3 separate regions of the Homo sapiens genome follow, and all the other regions are linked to region 1. The links are contacts of gene promoters, found by promoter capture Hi-C in human tissues and cell types (Jung and others, 2019). All regions are on one chromosome and are shown on one strand. The core of a region is centred on a gene start or on the middle of the fragment in contact, and the rest is flanking DNA. Distances in the headings are between cores, read along the strand shown. Region 1 overlaps CTNNBL1 (catenin beta like 1). Region 2 holds the start of KIAA1755. Region 3 holds the start of TGM2 (transglutaminase 2).

The links. The method cuts DNA at HindIII sites, captures the fragments that hold promoters and counts their contacts. A contact is called where the count stands out against the background at its distance.
Region 2: the fragment with the promoter of KIAA1755 here is called in contact with a fragment that was not itself captured in region 1 in 2 of the 25 tissues and cell types used here (H1 embryonic stem cells and heart left ventricle).
Region 3: the fragment with the promoter of TGM2 here is called in contact with a fragment that was not itself captured in region 1 in 1 of the 25 tissues and cell types used here (dorsolateral prefrontal cortex).

Annotation. Positions count from the first base shown.
Region 1 is chr20:37,765,705-37,770,203 of GRCh38, reverse strand. CTNNBL1 (catenin beta like 1) reads right to left here. Exons shown (of 16, transcript NM_030877.5): 7 at 2,160-2,251. Among named protein-coding and RNA genes, the nearest start is that of CTNNBL1, 74 kb to the right of the region's middle. The HindIII fragment of the contact is 4,841 bases long and covers 1-4,445 here.
Region 2 is chr20:38,258,486-38,262,984 of GRCh38, reverse strand. KIAA1755 reads left to right here and starts at 2,250. Exons shown (of 14, transcript NM_001029864.2): 1 at 2,250-2,487. The coding sequence starts at 2,485. It overlaps LOC149684 (a long non-coding RNA gene), which reads right to left and starts at 2,810. Exons shown (of 2, transcript NR_104170.1): 1 at 2,629-2,810. RefSeq lists an enhancer at 1,993-2,492. The HindIII fragment of the contact is 8,345 bases long and covers 1,069-4,499 here.
Region 3 is chr20:38,162,021-38,166,519 of GRCh38, reverse strand. It overlaps TGM2 (transglutaminase 2), which reads left to right and starts at 1,250. Exons shown (of 13, transcript NM_004613.4): 1 at 1,250-1,331. The coding sequence starts at 1,322. RefSeq lists a silencer at 958-1,397. The HindIII fragment of the contact is 7,409 bases long and covers 1-4,499 here.

The DNA of each region.
Region 1 (4,499 bases), core at 776-3,275:
CAAAGGATATTTAGACTCAAGAGAGGAGGTCAAAAGGAAGTTGCAAATGACAATGCCTGAATTAACTACTTGCTGGATGCAAGACTGAAAGGCAAGAGGGATGGGGTTTGGAGGGAGTTAGAGTTTACTGACCTCTGCTAGGCAAATGTGCTCATACTGATGGTAGCAGCTGGGCTAGCTGAGCATCCTTGGGCCAATATGTTATGTAAATCAAGGTTACAGATTTAATGGGAACAAACGGCTGAATAAGTAGGATTGGAGAAGACTAGAGTGTCAGAAACGGAGAAAACCATGCAGCATATGATATCTTAGGCAGAACCTTCTCCTTTAGCCCTGCCAAGACAGTGGAGGACAAATCTGACCTGATACACCCCAGACTTTCTGGATGCTTGTGACATTCTGAAGCAGAGCAAGGCCATTACTTAGAGCATTACTTTAGTTACAAACAAGTGCCTCCTTCTCACAAAAAGTTAGGATCCTTGCCTGCCTGAGGGCCATTTCAATAGCATATAAGCAGTTCCAAACTGCCTCCCATCACACCTTTGGTCCAAACTGTTCTGAGAGGAGCTCTTGCCTCTTCTTTTTCTCATTTACTCTATTAGACAATACTAACTGTTAAAAAGACAATCACAAGGACTATGCTAAGAGAATGAACAATTCAATAGAAATATGGACAAAGAATATAAATATGAAGCTAAAAGACATGAATACAAATGGCTAATCAACAAGAAGCCAACACACTTCACTTGATGTTAAAATTACAAATTAAAATAATACCAGTTTTCACTATCAGATTAACTAGAAGCAGAGGGAAACAGATAACTCTAAATCAGTGGGGCAGCTGATTTATCAGTGGGATATGATAAATCAGTGGGAATAATTTTGCAATACTACAAAAAATGTTAAGGTGCATAGCCTTTGGCCTATCAATTCTACTTCTATGAATTTATCGTACAGATAAACTGAGACAAATGTATATTTTAAAAAGTCTGTATACAGCAGTCCCTCCCTTATCTGTGGGGGATAGGATCCAAGGCCCCCAGTGGATGCCTGAAACTACAGATAAATTCTGTATTTACTATGTTTTTTTCCTATATATGTACCTATAATAAAGTTTAATTTATAGGCCAGGCACGGTGTTTCACGCCTGTAATCCCAGCACTCTGGGAGACCAAGGCGGGTGGATCACTTGAGATCAGGAGTTCGAGACTAGCCTGGCCAACATGGTGAAACCCCGTCTCTACTAAAAATACAAAAATTAGCCAGGCGTGGTGGCGCACACCTGTAATCCCAGCTACTCGGGAAGCTGAGGCAGGAGAATCACCTTAACCCGGGAGGCAGAGGTTGCAGTGAGCCAAGATCATGCCACTGTACTCCATCCTGGGCAACAGAGTGAGTGAGACTCAGTTTCAAAAGAAAAAACAAAAAAACAAAAAAAAGTTTCTAAATTAGGCACAGTAAGAAATTAACAACAATAATAAAATAGAACTATTATAACAACATACTGTAAGAAAAGTTTTGTGAATGTGGTCTCTCTCTCAAAATACCTTTTAGTACTATATTTACCTGTTTTCAGACCATGGTTAACTGTGAGTAACTAAAACGCAGAAAGCAAAACCACAGATAAGAGGGGACTACTGTATTCACAGCCGCACTGTTTATAACACTACAAACTTACCAGTGGGAATGATGAGATTAATTTTGGTACATCAGCATAGTGGAATACTAACTAGGCAATAATTAGTTCAGTGAGAAAATCAACTTGCATAAGAAAATATTACATAATTCTGTTTGTGAAACACACACTCTCTCATATACACAGAAAATTTCTGAGAGAATGGATATAATATTGTTAACAGTGACTGCCTCTGAGAAGTGGAACTACAAGGGATCAGCAGAGGGGATCTTTTCAGTTTTATACCTTTTGTATCACATGAATTTGTATTTATAACGTTTGTATTTTCAGAGGTACTAAAGACTATTTTTAAAGCCTCTTGTTTTAAAACGAACAAAAACGGAGAAGAAAGAAGCAAGAGGTACCAGAAGCTTCCCAAACTAGATCATATGGCCCAGCATAACAGTCTATGCCAATAACCCAGCATCAATCAAGCCCAGAGCAAAGACAGGTGTGAGCTGCAGTTCCCCACAGCCAAACTCACCTTCAGCCTCTTCAACAGCCACTGTAGAAGACCCTGCTGGGCACCCTCTGTACACATCTCAGGCCGGAACTCAGCCATGTTTTCCACAATAGCTGAAGGGAGACAGACACCAGTCATTTGGGAGGACAACTTTGTTTCCATCTGCAACAAGCTTGCTTCCCATGACAGGCATGTTATTCCTCTCCCCACTTCCCTGCATTACTCCCAGCCAGATGCTGGGTTGTCATTTTCAGATTAACCAGGGAGTTGCTGTGGTTTTCTTCTTCCAGTTATGCTACAGGTAAAACTCATAACTGAAAATGATGGAACTCACAAAAGAGCTAAGTGATAGATTTTCCATGCTAATAGGGAACAACACTAGAGCGGAACACACAAAAGGGTGGGTATCTACCTAAGAAGTCCCACCCAGTCCCTAATGAGTCCCAGAAACCCATAACCAAAGAGATTGGGAGCTAGGCAAAAGCCTTAGGGAAAACTCAGGGTCTGGTGAACTCAAGAGTCGCTTCCTTTCCTGATTCATCCATTTGCAGTTCTATTTCCCTGCATCAGGTGGAAGCAAGAATATTGCAAAGCAGGCAAGCATGGTCTTTTTAATTGAACAAAATAACATGCACAGAGGGGAAAGGCCATGCTGGCAGAGGTAACTCCCAGGTACTAGGAAGCAAATATAATTGGTCCTGCTATCTCCTACAACAGCCAAAGTGTTGCTTAATAGAAAAATTAAAAATTAGGAGGAAAAAAAAGTTATTGCATGACTATGATACGAAAAAGGAGATCTCTTTTTTTTTAATCACCTAGAGTCCTTAATATCAAATGGTTTCATTTCTTTCAGCCCCCCTTCCAATCCGTATCCTGGAATATGTTACTAGCATGAAACAGATACACTTCTGTGTTCCCTAAACACAATACCCAGAACACATTGGGTGTGAATTTTGAAGGAGAAAGGGCTGAAGAAATCACCACACCTCCTGTCTTCTTTCTCACTCCTTTGCCCACATCAGCCTCCCCAGTGGCAAGTTAAAGGATGACCAGGCAGGGGAAGCACGAAGCTGTGGGAGCAGAGGAGCAAGGAAACCCTGAGAGATGAAGAGCACTACGACACCCTGAATTACTTTCTGCCATTTCCTACAAAAATCAACTCATTCGTTTTAATCTTCCATGACTTTATCCTATTCTTCTGCTTATATTTTAGATGGCTTCCTATTGTTCACTCGAACAAAATCCAAGCTTCCTGCCATGGTTTACAAGGTCTTCCATTATCTGGACAAACTTATTCCTCCAGTTCCATCTCCCACCTCTGACTGTCACAGGCCATTTCTAGTCTTTCCTCAAATCCCAGCCCCATTCATGACTTTGCAAATGATACTCCCCTCATGAAGGCCCTTCTCCCACTCCTCCACCTGTCAAAATGCACCTGTCTTCATATTCAGCCACAGTCATGCACAGGAGCTAGCTGCTCCTATCCAGCAATTTGGAGGCTCTTCCTCTTCATTCCCACAGTGCTTTTCACTGACTCCTACGATACCGTCTGTCACCCAGCATTGTCTTTCCTTTCTTTTCAAGACTCACCTATCTGTCTGCCCTGTCAGGAGCAGAACCATGCCTACTTCACCATAATCTACCCTAGTACCTAGCACAGTGCCTGACAAACATCAGGCACTCAATAAGTGAGAGAGAGGGAAGACTCTCCTGAGCTGTTAGTAGCTGACCGAGCTGCAAATAGATCTCTGTAGACTGGCAGGCTGGTACTTTTTATTAACAGACAGTTAGCAGTCAGTTAACAGACTTTTGATACCGCAAAATCCAGCACTCTGCTAACAAATGGCAATGCCAAATTCTGGCTCTAGACTACAGCCAACCCAAATTACAGAGTGTTGTGTTCCTCCTCTTCCCCCCAGGTGCCCATGTTTCCCCTTCTTTATGATAATCCTCAGGGAACAGAGTCCAGAACTACAATAGAAATCTGTGGTACACAAAGAAGCTAAAAAAAAAAAATCTAATCTCATCAAATTTTCTGCTTCCACTGGGCCTTGTTCATTTCTCAAGCTCTGTTTACAGATATGTCATCTCTGGTTTTATAAGACAGTGACCAGTAATAAAGAGAGCTACCCCCAAAACACAATTTTAAATAGGATATCGGTTCAACAACTTTACAAAAGGAAAGACTGGGGAGATTCAAGGAGGAGAAGGAAGAGGAGAAATACTACAGAGGAATCCACTTAAATGAAAATCTGATGTAGGGACAGCCAAGTAGTAGCAATATTTCAAATCACAGTTTACGTGGTAGTCTACACCTAAGAAGAGAGAGAAAAACTCTTTTTCAAATAAAATGTCCTACAA
Region 2 (4,499 bases), core at 1,001-3,500, 490 kb before region 1:
TCTCCTGTAGAGAGAGTTTACTTGATTGCTGGGCTGTGGAAATATTGCAGGGGATTATTAGTCCCAAATTAGTGATAAGCAAGTGAAGGTCGGGGATGTGAAGGAACTTATCAAAAGTTGGGATAGGATGGCTCCTAATTCAGGTTTTCTCTGCTAAAAGACTGATTAACCTATGTGGGGTGGGAGATGGGCTGTGAATAAGGCTTGGGTCTGAACTCTAACCCTTACAACTACACTCGTCTTTTTCAGTTCTTCACTTACTCCCCAGCTCCTTTAAGCTTAATATTGCCTCAGAGCCTTTGCATATGCGGTTCTCTCTGCTTAGAACTTGGTTCCTCTGCGTCTCCCCATCTCCACTCTTCTAATTCCTCCCCTTTCAGATCTAGGCTTTCAGACCCAGGCTTCCTAGACCACCAGCTATAAGTTGATCCCTCTACTGTTCCCAATGTCAACATTTGTTTGTTTCCTTCTTAGCAGTTACCACAGTTATTATTTTTTTATTTTTCCTGTTTATCTGCTCCTTGCCTGTCTCCCCCACTAGACTGTACATTACTTGAGGGCCGGGACTCTCAAGTAATGTATAGTCTAGTGGGGGAGACAGGCTGACTCAGTGCACAGTGTTTGATAAATAAATGGACAAAACCCTGAGCCATCTAACCAGGAATAACTTTGGTCACTGTTTTAGTCTGGGCTGCTATAACAACATACCTTAGACTGAGGGGCTTATACACAACAGAAATTCTCTTCTCACAGTTCTGGAGGCTGGGAAGCCCTAGATCAAGGCACAAGCAAGTTGGGTGTTTGGTAAGAGCCTTCTTTCTGGACCTTATGTTTCTGGGCCTTTCTGGTTCATAGACAGCCCCTTCTCGCTGTGTCCTTCCATGGTGGAAGGGGCAAGGCAGCTAGCTCTCTGGGGCCTCTTGGGCACTAAGCTGGGCATGGTGGCTCACGCCTGTAATCCCAGCACTTTAGGAGGGTGAGGTGGGCAGATCACCTGAGGTCAGGAGTTCGAGACCAGCCTGGCCAACATGGCGAAATGCAGTCTCTACTAAAAATACAAAAATTGGCCAGGTGTGGTGGCGGGTGCCTAAAATCCCAGCTGCTCGGGAGGCTGAGGCAGGAAAATTGCTTGAACCTGGGAGGTAGAGGTTGCAGTGAGCTGAGATCATGCCACTGCACTCCAGCTTGGGTGGGCAACAGAGTGAGACTCCATCTCAAATATATATGTGTGTGCGTGTGTGTGTATATATATGTATATATGTGTGTATATATATGTGTGTGTATATATATGTGTGTGTATATATGCCTATACATATTAGTGCCTATATATGTATATATATAGGTGTATATATGTATATATATAGGTGTATATATGTATATATATAGGTATATATATGTAGGTGTATATATATATATAGAGAGAGGCACTAATCCCATTCGTGAGGGCTCTGTCCTCTCATGACCCAATCACTTTCCAAAGGCCCCACCTCCTAATGCCATCATACTGAGGATTAGGTCTGGACATACGAATTTGGGAGGGGACACACACATATAGACCCTAGCGGTCATCTAGTTTCTTAGTCTCACTCCAAAGCTGAGGCTCAGTAGGAAATACCGACTTGGCCAAGGTCATTATCTGAGAGTCAAGAACAGAACTCGCACACAGCCATCATCACCTCAAAGCCTTGAATTAGGCCGTCATGATGGGGCATAATGTGGGAGAATTCAAGGGCGCTGGGACAGATGCTTACTCCTCATCACCAAATCTAAGCAGCAGGCACTATCATCATCATCATCATCATCATCATCATCATCATCATCCTCCTCCCACCCCATTTTACAGATGAAGAAATCGAAGCTTAAGAGAGTCTGTGACTCCCTGGGAAGTGTAGGAGGAGGAGACTCGAACTTGGGCCTGCCAGCGAGGTCCGCGGGCGCTTAACCCGGCTGCTGCGGCTCGAGGCCTCGCTCTGCGGGTCTGTACAATGGGGCTGTCCGGGCCGGGTGCGCCGTGGGAAGAGCGAGGAGCGGGGAGGAAAACTTGGCGGGGCGGACTCGGGTTCCTCGGGTTCCAGCTGGCTGCTGAGGGGGTGGACGGAGGGAAGGGGGGGCGGTGGGGGCGGGGCGCGCGGGCTGGGCACAAAGGGCTCAGGCACAAAGGGGCCGCTGTCCCGCCGCGCCCCGCCCCGCCCCGCCTCTGCTGCCGCCCCCCGTCTGGTGGCCCGACCCGCGCCGCCCGCGGCTCCCTTATGTCTCTCGCCGTCTCCAGCCTCAGTCCCTCTCTGTCTCTCTCTCAGTCTCTCTCCCTGTCCTCCCCGGCCGCTCCTCCGAGATGACGCCGGGGTCGGTGCCCCGGGCCTGCCCTATCCCCTGGCTCCAGGGCTAGGCGGGACCGAGGGCTGCCCCAGACAGACGGACCCGCGGACCCACAGACCCCGCGCCCAGGAGAGGAGCCGCGCCGCCCGCCGCTGGCAGCCCGTCACCATGGTAACGCGCCAAGGCCTGGACCACCTCGCTCTGCCCCCTTTCAGTGGGCACAGCCCTCCCCATTCCCTGCAGAACAGCCCCGGGTGGCCCTGGCCTTTTACACTGAGACGACCCTCAGTGCCTTGGCAGGGTTGTGCTTACCTGCTTCCACCCCAGCAGGGGTTCAAGGGCAGGAGCCCATCTCTGGCCGCGTCCTCTCCTGGCTTCTCCATGTGTGTGTATGGATGGAGTAAGATTGTACTTGTAAACTTTAATATTCCCCAACCCCTAGACCTGAGCCTGAATCTCAGCCCTGAGGCTGAGGGCTGAAACGGGGTGGTTTTGCATGTTTGTTTTGGAACTGACTGTGATATGCACATTGTCCCGGCAGGGAGTTTGGATGGGGAAGAGTGGTGGTGGGGGTTAAAGTCCCCTCCCAGGCCAGCCAGGCAGTGCAGGGCGAGGAGGGTTAAGGGTCCAGGGTGAAAAGGAGAGAACTGCTTACCAAAACTTGGGATGCTTTTGCTGTTTTAGACTCAGCTATGGAAAGTCAGATATACACATTGAAACCCAGGGTGCTTCCATGGGAATTGGCTGGGGAGAGGGAAGAGGAAGGGACTTTTGGAGCTGGAACCTTGAAAAAAGTTGAGACATTCTGGGAGAATGTGTGTGTGTGTGTGTGTGTGTGTGTGTGTGTGGTGGTGGTGGTGGCAGGGATGCGTTTGTGCCAGTATCTGGCAACAGGGAATGAAAGAAAAGTCTGTTTTTGGAGGATTTCAGCCCAGCTCCAGACAGATACAAGAGCCCCAGGCAGATTCACAGGGGCTGTAAGGATTTTGAAAAAAGCTGTGAAGACAGGCCAAGGCTTTAACCCTGTGACTGTGACCAACCATGTTGAATTTGTGTGGGTTTTCACTCACAGCAAATGCATCTCCACAAGCAGAAGAATTCCATATAGAGGTGTTCATACTCTCTCTCTCTCTCTCTCACACACACACACACACACACGCAGGCACTCACACACACGTACACATGCACACACACGTACACATGCACACACACATACACATGCACGCACAGAGCACACCTGAATGCTCCCACTGACTCACACAGCTGAACACATGTTCACACCCTCTCATACACCCATGCCTTCTGCACCTGCTCCCCCATACTGCTAAACTATGGGCATACATTGGCATACACACCACAGACATATTGCAAAACCGGGCACCTACATCCATGCACTGCGGGGACAGGTGTACACACACATGGCTCTTGGAGCTGTTTGAAAATACTCTCATAAGCCAGTGGTTATTCACCTCTCCCTACAGGCAAGGCCCTGTGCTAGGTGATTTACATCCAGGAGTCAGTAACTCATACCAACTCTAAGATTAGACCTGCGGCTATCTCCAACAGATGGGGACCTCAGGCTCTGGGAACTTAAGTAGCTGCCCAAGGTCACCCCACCCAGAAAGTGCAAGTTAGGACAGTCTGAATTCTGAGCCTGCACTCGGCGGTCATGGTCACTCCAGGGCCACAGCGTGCACCTGGTGTTTGCCAAGCCTCTCCTGCTTTCACACCTAACCTAGTCATTAGAAACCCCTCATTGAACCCCAGATCCTCAGATCAAGGGTCAGGCACTGGTCTGCCCCCTGTCAAAGGGTGAGCAACTCTTTCCAGATTGGGAACAATGTGCAGATTTCCTTCCCTTGCCTGTTTTTTAAAGAATAAAGGTTGTTGCCAGCCTACCTCCCTGGCCTCACTTCTGTGCTCCAGCCACTCCAGCCTTGCTTGCGAGCCTCTTATGGTTCACGCTCCCTGCTGCCCCAGGGCCTTTGCACATGCTGTTCCTGCTTGGAGGAATACCTTCACCTAATGAATTCTTATTTACCCGGTAAATCTTCACCCAAATGTCACCTCTTCAGGAAAGCCTTCCCTGATTTCCCTGACTCTTACTCTAGCATGTCATGTATCTTTCCTTTATGATAACCCATCATAGCTGTAATTTTTGTGGGGCATTTGATTAACAGCTG
Region 3 (4,499 bases), core at 1-2,500, 400 kb before region 1:
GCTCAGGGCTCACAGTGGATCCGGAAGCACAGGAGACCAAGAGACCAGAGATACCAGGATGAGAGATAGGACCCCTGGTTGCCAGGTTCGAGAAGTCCTAGGCTGAGTCCCTGGAAAGTTAGTCTTGCTCCTTTCTGGCACACAGTGGGGCCTCAAGAAAGCTCAGTGGATGGATGGATTGAGGGAGGGAGGGAAGAGAAGGCCGAGGGAGGGATGGATGAAGGGATGAGTGGATGGATAGGTGGGGGGGTAGGTGATGCATGGGTGAGTGGATGGATGGGTAGATGGATGGCTGATTAGATGGATGGCTGATTAGACAGATACAAGGATGGGTGAGATCGGAGGATTATCTGGGTTTTGCTACAGGAAGGGACATGGGTGTGTCTGTTTTTGCAGGTGTGTCTGCATGTCTGTACCTGAGTCCATGCCTGCATGTGTGTCTACCTCTGAGTAGCCACATCTTTGTGTGTCTGTGGGTGCCCTCTCTGATTTTGCGTCCACATCTGACAGTGGCATTGGTGTCTAGGAGGTCTGTGTGTGTGCCAGGTGCCTCTGGACACCTGCTCATCTGTGTCCACAGCTGTGTGTGGCTCGCGGTCAAGGCTACCTGGCTGTGTCAGGCTGTATCTATGTCCTGGTGTGTGTCTGCCATTCGAATCTGAATTTGTATCCATGTCACTGTGTCTGCGTGGCCAGCCGTGTTTGGTGTATCTGTGGGAGTGTATCTGTGTTTGTGTGTGTATCTCCACAGCCCTGTCTTGGTGTGTCTGCGTCTGCTCTCTGTGTATGTATATCTGAGTATGTGTGTGAGTGTGTGCGTGTGTGTGTGTGTGTGTGTGTGTGTGTGTTGGGGGTGGGGAGGTGTTCTTGATCCCAGATCTGACCTAAGAGTCCACATCTGTGTGTCCAGGTGCACCCCGGTTCCGTTGTGTGTTTCTATGAGGGTGCTGCGTGTGTCTGTATCTGAGTGTGTGTGTCCAGGTGTCTGTTCTCCAAGGTCTGAGTCTGTGGGTCCAGGTGTGTCTGTATCCTGGGCTAGTTGTGTGTCCCTGTCCGCTCCCCCAGGGGGCGCCCTCGTCCGGCCGCCGTCCCTCCCTCGGGCTCCGGTCCCCTGGGTGAGCCCCAGCGCTGGCGGCGTGGGCCCGGGACTGGGCAATGGGTGGCCTCCCAGGTCGCCGCCTTCCCGCGGGGCCCCGCCCCCGGCCCGCCCCAAAGCGGGCTATAAGTTAGCGCCGCTCTCCGCCTCGGCAGTGCCAGCCGCCAGTGGTCGCACTTGGAGGGTCTCGCCGCCAGTGGAAGGAGCCACCGCCCCCGCCCGACCATGGCCGAGGGTGAGTATCAGAGTCACCGCAGCCGCCACTCAGGGGCCCCGGGGCATTGGGGGTCAGGACCCGGTGGGAGCTGAATCCCTAAGTCCTGATTTGGAGAGCAACAGGCAGACCGGGCTGGGTGAGGAGGCGTCTCAATGCTGCTTGGAGCCTCAGTTTCCCCATCCACACTGCATAACCATTAACCCTTGCCTCCCTGGATCAGGTGAGGCAATGGAACGCGACGGGGTGTTGTAAACTGTAAAGTACTGTCCTGGCGGACCACTGGCACGTGTCCTCAGTCAGTCAGTGGGGGCTGGCTCTCTGATGTGTGCCTGGAGCTGTGCAGGGGGTGCTGGCCTGGCCTCAGAACACTTAGGTTTGGGTGGTTCTTGCCAGCCAGGACCAGGTGGTGTGCATGCCACGCCGGTGGTGTGCAAGCCAAGCCTGGCTGAGTCCTTGGCTCCAGCGGCCAGAGAGGAGCTTTCGGCATCCTATCCAGGAGCCTTCGGAAATCAGGCTTGTTCTTCCCGCCCTCACGTTCTGCAACCCTAGACCTTGGCCAATTGTTGAGTCTCACCTATAAAATAAGGACAACAGTGTCCTTATTTTATAGGACAAGGTTTATGAGATTTGTTTTCCCCCAAGACCCCCACCCATCTGTCACCCTGACCGTGCCCTGGTCCTCTGCTCCAGCCTTTGGTGCATCTGTGAGGAACGAGAGGAGTGGAACAGAGGCTTAACTAATTTCATACTGGTGCCCCTGACTCCCTCCCCACACACAAGCAGCACTCTCGTAGGTCCCAGCTGGAGGGATTTCTACAATGGAGGATGTCACTGCTGGACCCAGAATCCCAGCTGGCTCTTGGGTCAAGTTCATCTGGGGATGGCTTCTGCACCCATTGCAACCCCCAGGAAGGGGTGTGGGACAGGGACATGGGGCAGGTGGAGCAGGAATGGGTGGCAGGAACTGTGGACCCACCTGACCCTGCTGTGTGATCTCAGCCACCTGCCTCCCTCGGGCCCAGCTCCCAACACACTGTGATGTGTCGCCTCGGTGGCCGCTTGTCCTCAATGCATCTTCTCACCCCCATGCTCAAAAGCAGGGCTCAGTGGGGCTGGGAGATCCTGGAGATGCCAGTTATGATGAGCCTCCAGCCCCATGTCACAGTGGCCACTTCTGACAGAGGTCTCACTGGCCTAGAAGGCCTAGGCCCTTTCTAAGTGCAGAAATCCTATAAATCCTACAATTCTAGACCTGCATCTTTGGAGCTGGGCGTGATTTCTGGAAACCCTTCTTCGGACAACAGATGGAGAAAATGCCCCAGCTCCCACAGCCCAGGGACTGGCCGTATCTCCAGGGTCTTCCATGGGAACAACAATGGCCTCTTTCCTGCTCAAGCTCCCTGGGTCTGAAGTTTCCAAAAACATTTCCTCGCCGCAATAGGCCAGCAGGAAGTTTTTCCTTCTGGCCACTGAGGTCTCTTCTGTTGTGATTACACGGGGACCGACATCCCTGATACTTCAGTGGCGCAGAACTATCTGCCCCCAGGTTTGAGAACAACACAGGACATGGTGGCGAAGGGGTGGTCATAAGAGGGGCTGGAGAAAAAACTGAGCTGTAGTGAGGTGGTTCCCAGGGCAGAATCCTACAGAATCCTACAGCTCTGGATTCCAATCCCAAAGCAGCCACTTGCTCTGGGACCTGGAGCCACCTGGTGTCTTTGTCTACAAAATGGGAATCATGATAGCATCTATGTAAGCGGAGTTGTTTTGGGATTTAAGTCGAGATAATTCACATACAAGGCACTTTGCATCTCATTTTTGGAATAGTCGATGGTGAGCAGGAGACCTGGGCTCTCCCACTGCAAGGACCAACTTGCGGCGTGACTTTGAACAAATTCCTGCCCCTGGGCCTCACTTGGACCACATGCTGTCCAGTGGCTCCACACTCAGAGTCTGTCTTGCCCACTCCTCCCACCTTAAGGGCTTCCCCATCCTGACCTTGAGCTTGCCAAGGTTTATGAGATTTGTTTTCCCCCAAGACCCCCACCCATCTGTCACCCTGACCGTGCCCTGGTCCTCTGCTCCATCTGAAACTGTAAATGGAACTTTCACGTATCAAGCTTCTGTCCTGGGCTGGGCCGTGGGGAAGGGGGTTCCCAACACATCTTCTAGACTCACAGCAGCCCCTTGAGACTTCAGAGGAGGAGTCACAGAGAGGGAGAGACACTTATCCAGGCTCACACAGCAACACAGCAGAACTAAAACCTACCTCTGGAAGTCTCCAAAGCACCTATCATGTTAAAAATGTTTTGTTTTGGAGAATATTGAACATACACAAAAATAGACAGAATTGTTTAATAAATTCCTATGTCCTCATCACCCAGCACTGACCACCGTGGTGTCTCCTGCCCCTGCGCACCTTCATCTCAGACATCACATCATGTCATCTGTCAATGTTTCAGTATATGCCTTTAAAGGATAAGGACTCTCTTTTTTTTAACACAAACAAATTAACAAAAATTCTTTGATATCACCATTATGCCATCAGTATTTAAATTTCCAGTTGTCTCATACATGTAATAAATGTTTTAAAATACTTTTTTGAAATCAAGATCCAAATAGATCAATACATCACAACGGGTTTAAGTTTCTCTTTATAGGTTCTCTCTTCAATGTTTTTTTCATTTTCTTTCTTGCAATCTATTTATTAAAGAAACCGGACCCTTTGTCAATAATTTCCCAGTATATGAAGTTTGTCAACTGCATCCTGGTTCTGTGTTTAACTTGTTCCTCAGCCCTGGGTATTTCCTGTAAATTGAACATTGGATCTAAAGGCAAAGGCCATGTAATTGACCTGTACCAAATACTGCCCCTGCTTAAACCAAAAGAACCCTCTGATAGCAATAGAATAGCTCGTGTTTATTGAGTATTTATTACACAACAGACATTGTACTAAGTGTTTTACATGCATTAATTCATTTCTTGCTCACACCAGCCCTGGGAGGTAGATACTGCTGGTCCCATGGCTGCTGGAGGTCACACAGCTAGGAAGTGCCACAGGGGGTCACGACCTTGTGATTAAAAGATTTAGGCAAAGCTGGGCACTGTGGCTCGCACCTGCACTTTGGTAGGTCAAGGCAGGAGCCATCACTTGGCCCAGGAGTTCGAGAGCAGCCTGGGCAACAT